Linked DNA regions of Homo sapiens: all the other regions are linked to region 2. The links are contacts of gene promoters, found by promoter capture Hi-C in human tissues and cell types (Jung and others, 2019). All regions are on one chromosome and are shown on one strand. The core of a region is centred on a gene start or on the middle of the fragment in contact, and the rest is flanking DNA. Distances in the headings are between cores, read along the strand shown.

Region 1 (2,700 bases), core at 25-2,524, 120 kb after region 2:
GAACAGATTAATACAACAGGGTTCCCCATGGATCTGTTATAAAAATTAGGTTGTGGATGTCTATCATAAAACTCCAGGAGGCTGGGCAAAGGGTGATTGGAAAGCAGTGAGCAGGCACTTTCAGAGCTCATGTGGGACATGGGGGGACTCCTGCATTCCTACCAGCCAGAGTGGAGCGTCCTTGTAGAAAATCTGGTGCGTTCAGTTGACATCCCAGAAAAGTCATGTCTTGGCAGGAGGAGTAAAGAAGCCCTAAATAAAGTCTAATCTAACCCCTTTCCTTCAGTCAAAGCTTCAAAACAAACCTCAAAAGGGTCAGGGTAATTTCTAAGTAACTCAGCTGGCTGCCAGAAAAATATCTACCAATCTTTAGAGGAGGACAACAAAATCTAGCATTAAGTAAGGTATAATTAACAATGTTTGGTGTCATATAAGAAATACAGACATGTAAAGATGCACAGAAGTGCAACTCCTACCAAGAGAAAAACCAGTCAATAGAAACACACTCAGGAATGATGGATGTTGGAAATAGCACACAAAGGATTGAAAACACCAATTACAGATATACACACGAATTTAAAGGAAACATGAAAGTAATCATCAAAGAAGGAGAAAAATTAAAAAGGAAATACAAGGGCCAAAAATAAAAATCTTAAATAAAAAAATTTCTTTATGAAATGAACAGATTAGACGTGAAGAAGAAAAGATCAGTGAACTTGAAAGTTGCAATAGAAACTTTCAAAACTAAAATTCAGTCAAAAGAGACTAAAAAGAAAATTTAAATGAATCTTTAGTAACCTGTGGGAAAATATTCATGCAAGTATATGGATCACATACTTGTAATTGGAAGCTGAGAAGGAAAGGAAAGAGGGAAGAGAAAAAATATTTGAATAATGGTAAAAAATGCTCCAAATTTGATGAAACATACAAAACCACCCATCCATGATGCTCAATAGATCAAAAGCAAGATAAGCACAAAGAAAACTATGCAAGGTAAAACATAATCCAATTGCTAAATGCCAGTGGCTAAGAAATGTGGGTGGGCTTCATCAAATCTATTGAAGATCGGAATAGAACAGACAGACTGACTCTCCTGCAAGTAAGAGAGAATTTCATCCTGCCTGACTGCTTTGAGCTGGGAGGTGGTTTTTTTTTTTTCCTGCCATTTTTGAACTGAAGTATCAGCTTTTTATGAGTCTTGAGCCTGCCAGCCTTTGAACTGGAAGTACACCATTGGCTCTGCTGTTTCCAGCTTACTAACTGCAGATTTTGGGACTTGTCAGCCTCAATAATCATAGGAGCCAATTCCTTACACACACACACACACACACACACACACACACACGTTATGCATATGTACAAAATTATATATAGTTATATATTATATTTAAGTATAATCATATCTATCTATTCCAAAATTGGGTCTCTAATCTGATTACATTTTAAGTTGCTAATAACTTTATTTCCAATTGTAAAGAGAGCACTAATAGTCCATGGCATGATCTAGCAATAAAGATATCACCACTGGATACTCCTAATCAACCCCTTATAAGAGACAAGGAGCTGGGTAACGGTGTATACTTTCAATTATTTTCCTCACACTAACAAATATAATAAGACTCACCAGGTGTTTCTAATGTGAAGTGATACTAAGTGGACAAAGGATGAAAAACACTTAATGGTAAGTATGTGGGTAAATACAAAGGCTTTTCTCATTTTTAAATTTCCTTAAAAGATAATTGATTGTTTAAACAAAAATAATAACAATGTACTGTGTGGCTTATAACCTATTAAAGCAAAATATGTAATGATAGCATGATGGACAGAATGGAGGAAACGGAAGTATATGGTTGTAAGGTCTTACATTGTACATAAAGTGTTATAATAGTATATTTGTAATGAGCTAATGATACATATTGTATACCCTCATGCAACCACTAAACATGAAGCCAGAGTTATAGCTAATGAACTCACAGTGGAGATAAAATAGAACCATAAACATTTTTAATTCCTCTAAAAGAAATCAAGAAAAGAGAAATAAAGGATGAAGAACAGATGAAATAAACAGAGAACAAATGACAAATGGTAGATTTATACCCAACTATACTGATAATTATATAAAATGAAACTGGTCTAAAAATTCCAATAAAAAGACAAATATTTTTAGACTGTATAATAAGGCAAGACTCAACTCTATGTTGTCTGAAGACCTCAATAATTTAAAGGCACAGGTAGGTCAAAAGTAAGAGGATGGAAAAAAATATACCATGTAGCACCAATTATAACAAAGTTGGAGGGGCTAGTTAAATATCAGAAAAAGTAAACTTCAGAACAAGAAATATGCAGAACAAGAAATAAACGAGAACATTTCATAATGATAAATTTATCAGAAAGAGAAAAATTGTAAACATATATTCACCTAATAATAGAACTTCAAAATATGACAAAGAAATGGACAGAAATGAAGGGGGAAGTAGAGAAATCTACACTTATATTTACAAATTGTCATACTTGTTTCTCAGTAACTTATAGAACAAGTAGAAAAAATGAATAAAGGGGAAGGACACTTGAACAATATTACTAACCAACTTGATTTAATTGATGCCTATAGAACCTTCTACCTAAATACAGATTTTTAGGTGTAGTGTTCTATATCCTAGGAATGCAAAGTCAGTTTAATCAACAGCGCAATAAATCAAT
Region 2 (2,700 bases), core at 201-2,700:
CCCTGTGGGCATTTGGCCAAAGGCAGCCATCTGCCAGAATCTGAGAGCTGCTCTCAGACCTCGCTGGAGAGGGCTACCTGGGGCAGTCTGAGTCTCTCTGGGCAGACTGAGGTCCTTTGCTACCCAAACGGGGAGAATTAGAGATACTGTTGGCTCCTGGGCACTGGAAGGGAGGAACGCAGGCCTCTCAGCACAGGGCTGGGCCAACAAGTTGGGGGTCCCGGCACAGGGGACAACGGAGAAGTGCCAACATTGGGACCCAATTATGTGATACTGGGGCCCAGAGATAGTACAGGTGCCTCATACCACGTGGCCCTGGGTGGACAGCAGGAATCTATTGCGAGTGGCGGGAGGCCGGGGCTGCCTGTCCTGCGCCCTGAAGCTGGCCAGCGGTTGTGGAAACTGGGGGATATTGAGGGAACCGTAGGCCCAGGTCCTCAGCCTCATAGTGTGGAACCTGGCGATCCCAGGGCCTGGGCTGGCCCCCGGCGTCACGGGACCGGGAAGGCGCTGTGGTGCTGCGGGGAATTGCGGAGAAGAAGGCGGGCTCCAGTGGAGGTGGCTCATCCCCGCACGGTCACTGCCCTCGCCCGCTGTTGGGGTCCGCGGCTGGGAGACTGAAGGCCTCAAGTCGGGCTGGGTAGGGGCACGTGGGCAGGGAAAGGGGTGGTAGATTACCAGTCTTCAGGGGCGGGGCTGGAGATGCAACCCTAGGGAAGGAGTCTACCAGGCTGGGCTCTTGAGGGGCAATGGAGGGCTCCGGGGGCCAGGCCAGGCCAGGATCATGGAGTTCAAAGGACTGGAGTGAGGTTTGGGGTCCATGAGAGTGGAGCTCAGAGGATGGGACGGTGGGTCCAGGATTTGGGACCTGGGGCTGGAAAGTCCGAGGCTAGTGGAGACCAGGCCTGGTATCCCAGACGAAAGGGCCCTATAGGAAACGGGGTCTCGTGGGCGGGATCTGGAGCCAGAGAATTGTGAGAGGCGGAGCTAGGATGGAGAAGGCGAGAGGAAAGGGGTAGCCGCCGGCGCGGAGACCTCAATGCGGGGCGTGGTGCGGAGGGGGAACTGGAGCGAGGGGCACTGGAGCGAGGGGGTGGGGCTACGAGGAGGTGGACTTGAGGGGCTGGGTCTGGGGCCGGAGAATCGTGGGGAGCTGCGCCTATACACCCGGGACGGTGGGGTTGCGTCGGGGAAGTGGGAGTCTTGGGGGTTCGCTGGGCAGCCTGGAGAACAGGCGGTCGTGGTGCGGGCGGGGCCGAAAAGACCGAGGACAGTGGGGACCCGGCCTGAGGAGGGGTCGGGAAGGAGGGGTGGGGGCGCGCGGACGCAGATCCCGGGCCGCGGCGGGGCGGTGGCAGGCTCCAGAGTGGCACGGGCCCAGGTGAGCGAGGTCTCCGCCCGCCGCCCCTCCCGCCGCCCCGGTGCCAGCTGCCCCGCTGGCCCCTCCCTGTACCCGGCGCTTGCTCCGCGGGCCGGGCCGACGGCGGCGGGCGGCGTCTCGCGCCCAGGCCAGGTCGGCTCTGGCTCCATCTTGGGCCGCGGCACCTGGCACCTGTGGCGGCCGCAGGAGCAGCGCTTCCCCCGCCTGCGCGGCCCCGGCGGGCGAGAGGGTGAGAGGCTGGCTCCGCGCGCTCCCGTTGGGGCGGGGGGCGTGGTGGGCGGCACCTCCCCCTTGCTGAGCCTCAGAACCCACTCCTTCCCGCTGCCTGCGCTCAGACCCCCGGCATCCTGGCCCCTGCCCAGCGCCCAGAGCCCCCGGTGGCCGCATCGCACTCCCCGCGCTCCGCCTCTCATTGTCCTGTCCTGTCCCCTCTTCTACGTCTCCTCTGCCCATCCTCCCATTTTCACAAGTCTGTCCGGGACCCTGTCTCCTTCGGCCTCCACCCCTGCTGCCATCGCTCCTCCCTCTCCCCTTCTTCCTTTTCCCCTCCCTCAGCCTACTGCGCCGCCTACCCCGCCCCCAGCCTTGCTGCCCTTTGGCTTCTCCTGTCCCGCATCATTACCCCGGCCCACAGCCCCATTTGCCTGCAGTCGCTGCCTTTGCTCCTGAGAAGGTCTGTAGCCTCGTTTCGGGCCCGTATTGAGCCCCCTTCTCCCTAAGTCCGGGTGGGCTTTGTGCAGGAGGGGCGGGAGGGGAGCTATTCTGGGCGAGGCTGCGTGGTGCGGTGCTTTCAGGCCTTTGGCCCCGCAGCAGGGGCGGCCTGTGCTTGGCGTGCAGAGTGCAGCTGGGTAGACGCTGTTACTGCATACGGGCCTGTGTGTCCCAGGCTGGGGCATGAGTGCTTGTGAGCGTGCAGATAGGGACACACCGGCCGCCTAGGCTGCTTCTAGGCCGGGGCACCCTCTCCACCTAGGTGCCCCCCAGGGATTGTGGGCAAATCCTCCCCAGGGGAGGAAGCTCAGGGGCTGTTGGGCGCCTAGGCCTCTTCCTGGTGAGCAGAGCCTCATCCATGGGGCCACTGACCCCACAGTTACCCCAGAACCCTTTCCTGGCACAGCTTGTGACCCGGGGCATGTAGCCCTTAAGGCACGTTCATTGTGAAGGGCAGGTTTTGTCTCCTCCAAACCCTCCCTTTAGGAATGCTGCCTGCTGCTTTGCCCAGAGTTGGCCCTGAGTGTTCCTATCAGGCCCCGTTCACTCTGGGGTGGATTAAACCACCTCCTGGAGGGTGCTGTATCCCCACTGTGCAATGGGGGTTT
Region 3 (2,848 bases), core at 328-2,827, 100 kb after region 2:
TACCACCATGTCCAGCTAATTAAAAAATTAAATCTTTTTTTTTCTTTTTTTGATAGAGACTGGGTCTCCCTATGTTGTCCAGGCTGATTTTCCTTTTTTTTTTCCTTTTTTGTAGAGATGAGGTCTCTCTCTGTTGCCCAGGCTGGTCTTGAACTCCTGGCCTCAAGTGATCCTTCTGTCTCGGCCTCCCAAAGTGCTGGGATTGGCATGGGATACTGTGCCTGGCCCCCTGTCTAATCCTGAAGCTTCCACTTCCTCTCCTCTTATGTGCTCACCAGTCCATTCATATAGCTCTTGCCATGTTGCCAAATCCTGTGGCCAGTTCTCAGTCTTGTCTGATATGGTCGTCAGCTGTATTGGGCAGTTGGTCACTCCCTTCTCCTTGAGACTCCTGCATGTGGCTTTTTCAGGGCATAATGGTCATGGTTCTCCCTGCCTCATTGGGCTCTTCTTCCCCATCTCTTTTCTTGGACTCTTGTTGCCCTGATTTTGGGACACTGGAGCATCCCCAAGGAGCCCTGGAGGTCCTCTCATTCCCCTGGTGAGCTCACCCAGTTTTCTGGTGCTAAATGCCACAAATACTCTAATGTTCCCCAGTGTATCTCCAGTCTGAACTTCTCCCTGACCTCCAGATTTGGGTGTCCAGGCATGCTTTGTGTTTCCTAGACACCAGTCAGCATCTCAAGCTTGGCACATTTAAAAGCAAACTCCAGATTTGTCCCTGCTACCTCCTTCCTCAGTGTCCTCCTTTTCAGAAAAGGGCAAGTCCTGCTTTTCATTTGCTTGGGCCACAGTCTTTGGGATCACCTCCTATTCACAACCCTCATCCAATCTATCGGTGAGTTCTGTAAGCTGTGCCTTCAAAATGTTCTCAGAATGACCACTTCTCACTGCCTCCAGGCTCTGCCTTCAGGTTCAAGCCACTGTCCTCCCTACTGAGATCATGGCAGAGGCCTCCTTTCTGGCCTCATTCAGCCAGAGTGATCCACTGAAACTAGTCAGGTGCCTCTACAACTTTGTTCAACCCTCCAGTGGCTTTCCATCATATTCAGGGCAAATTTCACAGTCACAGTCTCCACCTGTGTCTGCAGATCATCCACCCCTCTCTGGCCTCACTTCCCACTACCCTTCCCCTCACCCACTCCTCTTCAGCAGTGCTTGCTTCTCTGCTATCTTTTGAACAGGCTAAGACCTTTCCCGCCTCAGGCCTTTCTACTTCCTACTCTTGCTGCTTGGAATGCCACCCCTTGATATCAACTTTCTCCCTTGCTCCCTTCACCTTAAGTGAACCTTTATTAGAAGATTAATTTCCTGGCTGGGCATGGTGGTTTGTGCCTGTAATCCCAGCACTTCGGGAGGCCAAAGCAGGCAGATCACTTGAGCCCAGGAATTTGAGACCAGTCTAGACAACATAGTGAAACCCCATCTCTCTCTACAAAAATTACAAAAATCAGCTGGGCATGGTGGCACAAGCCTGTATTCTGAGCTACTTGGGAGGCTGAGGTGGGAGGATTGACTAAGCACAGAAGGTCAAGGCTGCAGTGAGCCATGATCACACCGTTGCACACCAGCCTGGGCAACAGAGTGAAAGCCTGTCTCAAAAAACAGAAGACTAATTTTTTAACCATCCTGTAAAAATATAACCATCCTCCCTCTCTCTTCCCTTTTCTGCCCAGTTTCTGCCACAGGACTTAGCACATTGGCTGGTTCTTTGTTGAGGGTCTCCACTCCCTCATTAGAACATGAACCCCATGGAAGTAGGCACTGTAGATGTTTTATTTACTGTCCAGCCCTCAGCAAGAACAGGCTGTTCACGAGAGGTGCAGAAGAAATATCCATAGTACAAGTGAATTTCCAACTGTTATAGTTCATCAGTGGAGAGCTGCACTTCAGCCTCTTATTTGTGGAGAGCGGGCATCTGGTTTTGTAGCTGTTTGGTCCCAAGTTTGACAGCCGTTGTCTGCTGACTGAAAGGGAGCTGAAGCAGCTCCCTTTGCATCCTGGTTTCCTGGTTTGTAATAATAAACACTGGCTGCCATGTATTTAGTGCCCCAACCACTGTGCCAGATGCTTTATATACATTGCCTTCCCTCAATCCTGAGATCAGATAGATGAAGAAACTGAAGCTTATAGAGGTGAAATAATTTTTTCCACATTTTCAATAAGAGCCAAAGATGAAACCCAATCAGTTATCTTCCAAAGCCTATGACTTAGACTGTTGTAGCAGGAAGGACAGTTGGCCAGATGACCTCCAAGTGGCCTTGAAGCTCATAGCTAGAAAGTATGAGCTTTATGGGCAATGGAGAAGCACTGAAAGCTTTTAAGCAGGGGGATGGCATGGTCAGGTTACATGGAGGGAGAGTAGTGTGGCTGGATTGGCCTGCATTCCCCAGAAAGCAGAAGCTGGGGCAGAGGTCTATGAGCTTTTCCTTTATTAGGGAGAAAGATCCCAGGGAACAAGATGAAGAATATGGGGAAGGAGACAGGGAAGGAGGGAGAGTCAATCTGAAGATGCGCTACTGAGCTGGCAGCTGATTACTCGGTATCTCTTAAAACCATCTTAGGACAGTTTGTCTGGACGAAAAAAGAGGTAAGAACTCATCCATCGGTTTCCATATTCCCTTGGCAAAGGTTCGTACATGGAGCATTACCTCCCCACACTCTGGGGACACACAGGAACACTGAACATACCTGGACATAAACAGAGCAGGTCCTGCAGAGATGAGAAGGATGTTTGGGGTATGAGGTGAGGCGCCATCAGGTCGCACCTGTGTGAAGCCAGTGAGCTCTCTCAGAGCTGGTGCCTCAGTGGGTGCTGGACCAAGAGGCCAGTGAGGACAAGAGGATC
Region 4 (2,700 bases), core at 16-2,515, 84 kb after region 2:
CACACCTCCCTTCTATGTGGCTTTGAAAATACTTTGATATTCTATCCCTATCCCTTAATTATTTGAACCCTCACCAGTTTGTAATGAGCCTGAACCCATCTTTGCTCCATTTTACATATGACAAAACTGAGGCTGGAAGCGTTGTTGCCAAGCTTCTTTGCCCTTTGTACCATGGGATTTAATTACATATATTTTATGGATTCTTTCCTTTATAAAGTTGTAATCATTCATTCTTTTTTAATAGAGAGAAATTTAGAAAAGGAAACAAAGCAAAAAATGACCTAAAATCCTATGGGTCAGATAACTCCCGTTGATATTCTTTCCTTCTTTCCCCCAGTTCTATTTCCAGAGGTTACCACTTTCAATTTTTATTTCTGTTTCATTCTATAAAGATGAAGAAAATTTTTGACACCTTTAAAAATATAATTTAAATCATCTTAAACTTATAGAAAAGTTGAAAGTGAGGATAAAGAACATTAATTTTTCTATGCCATTTGAAAGCATGATCCCGGCAATTTGCATGAACACCTTGCTACCGCCTCATCTGCAGGCTCCACTAAAGTTTCATCAGCTGTCCCAAGATACACAGGTTTCATTCTCCTGTCTCTGGTCTCCTTCAATCTGGAATGGTTCTCCCTTCTTTCCTTGACTTCCATGGCCTTATGTTTCCAGATGACAGGCCAGTTATTCTGTAGTATGTCCCTCACCTGGGTTGAGGCTGATGCTTCTTCAGGGTTGGATTCACTTGCATGCACCTTCAGCAGGAAGATCACAGAAGCTGTGCTGCGTTTTCCTTGCATCCTGTCATGCGGTGAGTAATTTCACTCTAGGATTAGAGATGGTGTTCGCTATGATCATTTGATTACAGAGGTGACTGCCAGCCTTCTCCACTGTAAGGTGACTCTTCTCTTTGTAATAAACAAATATTTTGTGATGAGGCACACTGAAACCATGAATATATTCCATTCCTCATCAAACTGTCACTTTACTCCATCATTTAGTTATATTGAAATGGACTCAGATTTTTATTTTATTCAGTAGGTTATTATCCATCATCATTATTATTTACTTTGATGCTCACATGGTCGAAGATTTGGCCATCAAGGGCCCCTTCAAGCCAGGTTCTGGGCTTTTCTGGCCTGCACCCTTCATTCTTAGAGTACTTCATTACTTTCTAGCTCCCAAGATCTTTCAGGTTTATCTTGGGCTTTCCCAGCCCTTGCCCTGGAATCAGCCATTTTCCGAAGGAGACTTGGATTCTTTTAATGGAGAATGGCATTTAGAAGTCAATATATGGGTGCTAGGAGTGTTCATTGCTATTGGGGTATCACTGCTCCTAGACTCTCTCAGTGGACAGAGCAAGGATATATATGCACACACACTATTAGATCAATATTTATCTCTCTATATAGAAAACCATGAGCTCACTTCAATACTTTCAATTCTAATCAAAACCACAGGGCTTATTCTGGGTTTCCCTCCTTCCATATTCATGACTGCCTTCTCCATGAGTGAGAAAACTGGCTCCCAACTTTGCTCAGTTGGTCCCCCTGCATATACCCAATCTTCCATAGCAGAACTCTGCCCCTCCACTCATTCTGTGTGGCTCTGACATCCACACTTGGTTGTCCCCTTCTGCCATGTGGACTTTCATTTGACAGTACTTGGACTCTAACACCCTGTGCTAGGCCACCGTGCCCCTGCCTCCCTGCATGGCCACTCTTTGTCCTATTCTGGCTCTGACATGCCATGCCAGGCTCCCCCACGCCAGATGGGTGCCATCTGGTACATATCCCGTGTGCTTAGCTTAGACTACCCGGGCTATGATGGCTACTGTCCCACCCATGCCCATGTGCTGCATGCATCTTATGAAGGCATCTGGTTTATTCTCCCTGCTCATCAGTTCAATCAGCATGTGCTACCAGTGTAGTGCACCAGCATACCATCTGTGGATCTGTGGGATGTTCAGAAGATCAAGGTCTCTGTAGACCACACTATAACAGAAAGCTGGAAAACGAACATGATCTGGGAGAAGACACTGACTTTGTACTTCTATCCTTGCCAGGTGAAAGCAAACTTCTGCTGGTTCTTACCGATACAGATGGGGAGAAAACACAAGCTGAGTCAATAGCTACATACTAAGTGCTGAGAGTGGTTAAGTTGTTCTATGTTGCATTTAGAAAAGCAGCTAAAATTGGAGTTACTGCCTGATTAAATTTACGACGACATACAGTCATTCTCCAAGATTCAGCAACTTCCTGCACAGGCTAAAGAGCTAAAGAGGTGAGCCAAGTGGGCAGAAATGTGACAGGCCTCCCTGTCCCTGCATCTTTCATGTCTTTAATCATGGCATCGATCCCTGTAATTCCCCTAGAAATACAGTAATGCAGGTTTACTATTTGCGTAGGGAAAGAAAATCCCAGGCTCCTGGGCCTGTTCAACCATTTCTTTGACCTCATCTCTCCTTGCTTGATTTTATACCAGTTGTGCTGGAGTACCTTCTAATATGGTTTGGCTCTGTGTCCCCACCCAAATCTCATCTCTAATTGTCATCTCCACATGCCGAGGGAGGTACCTGGTGGGAGGTAATCGGATTATGGGGGCAGTTTACCTCATGCTGTTCTCATGATGGTAAGTTTCCACGAGATCTGATGGTTTAAAAGTGTTTGGGAGTCCCTAGCCTCTCTCCTGCCGCCATGT

The links. The method cuts DNA at HindIII sites, captures the fragments that hold promoters and counts their contacts. A contact is called where the count stands out against the background at its distance.
Region 1: a contact is called between a fragment that was not itself captured here and the fragment with the promoter of GPRIN2 in region 2, in 8 of the 25 tissues and cell types used here (H1 embryonic stem cells, hippocampus, liver and 5 more).
Region 3: a contact is called between a fragment that was not itself captured here and the fragment with the promoter of GPRIN2 in region 2, in 9 of the 25 tissues and cell types used here (H1 embryonic stem cells, IMR-90 fibroblasts, aorta and 6 more).
Region 4: a contact is called between a fragment that was not itself captured here and the fragment with the promoter of GPRIN2 in region 2, in 10 of the 25 tissues and cell types used here (adrenal gland, heart left ventricle, liver and 7 more).

Annotation. Positions count from the first base shown.
Region 1 is chr10:46,434,149-46,436,848 of GRCh38, reverse strand. The region is part of intron 1 of LINC00842 (long intergenic non-protein coding RNA 842); the gene reads right to left. Among named protein-coding and RNA genes, the nearest start is that of NPY4R, 30 kb to the left of the region's middle. The HindIII fragment of the contact is 3,908 bases long and covers 1-2,700 here.
Region 2 is chr10:46,555,408-46,558,107 of GRCh38, reverse strand. It overlaps GPRIN2 (G protein regulated inducer of neurite outgrowth 2), which reads left to right and starts at 1,450. Exons shown (of 3, transcript NM_001385282.1): 1 at 1,450-1,610. RefSeq lists enhancers at 3-708, 1,414-2,119. The HindIII fragment of the contact is 19,539 bases long and covers 1-2,700 here.
Region 3 is chr10:46,452,874-46,455,721 of GRCh38, reverse strand. It overlaps LINC00842 (long intergenic non-protein coding RNA 842), which reads right to left. Exons shown (of 4, transcript NR_033957.2): 4 at 2,416-2,848. Among named protein-coding and RNA genes, the nearest start is that of NPY4R, 12 kb to the left of the region's middle. The HindIII fragment of the contact is 3,578 bases long and covers 1-2,848 here.
Region 4 is chr10:46,471,153-46,473,852 of GRCh38, reverse strand. No RefSeq gene overlaps it. Among named protein-coding and RNA genes, the nearest start is that of NPY4R, 6.5 kb to the right of the region's middle. The HindIII fragment of the contact is 6,341 bases long and covers 1-2,700 here.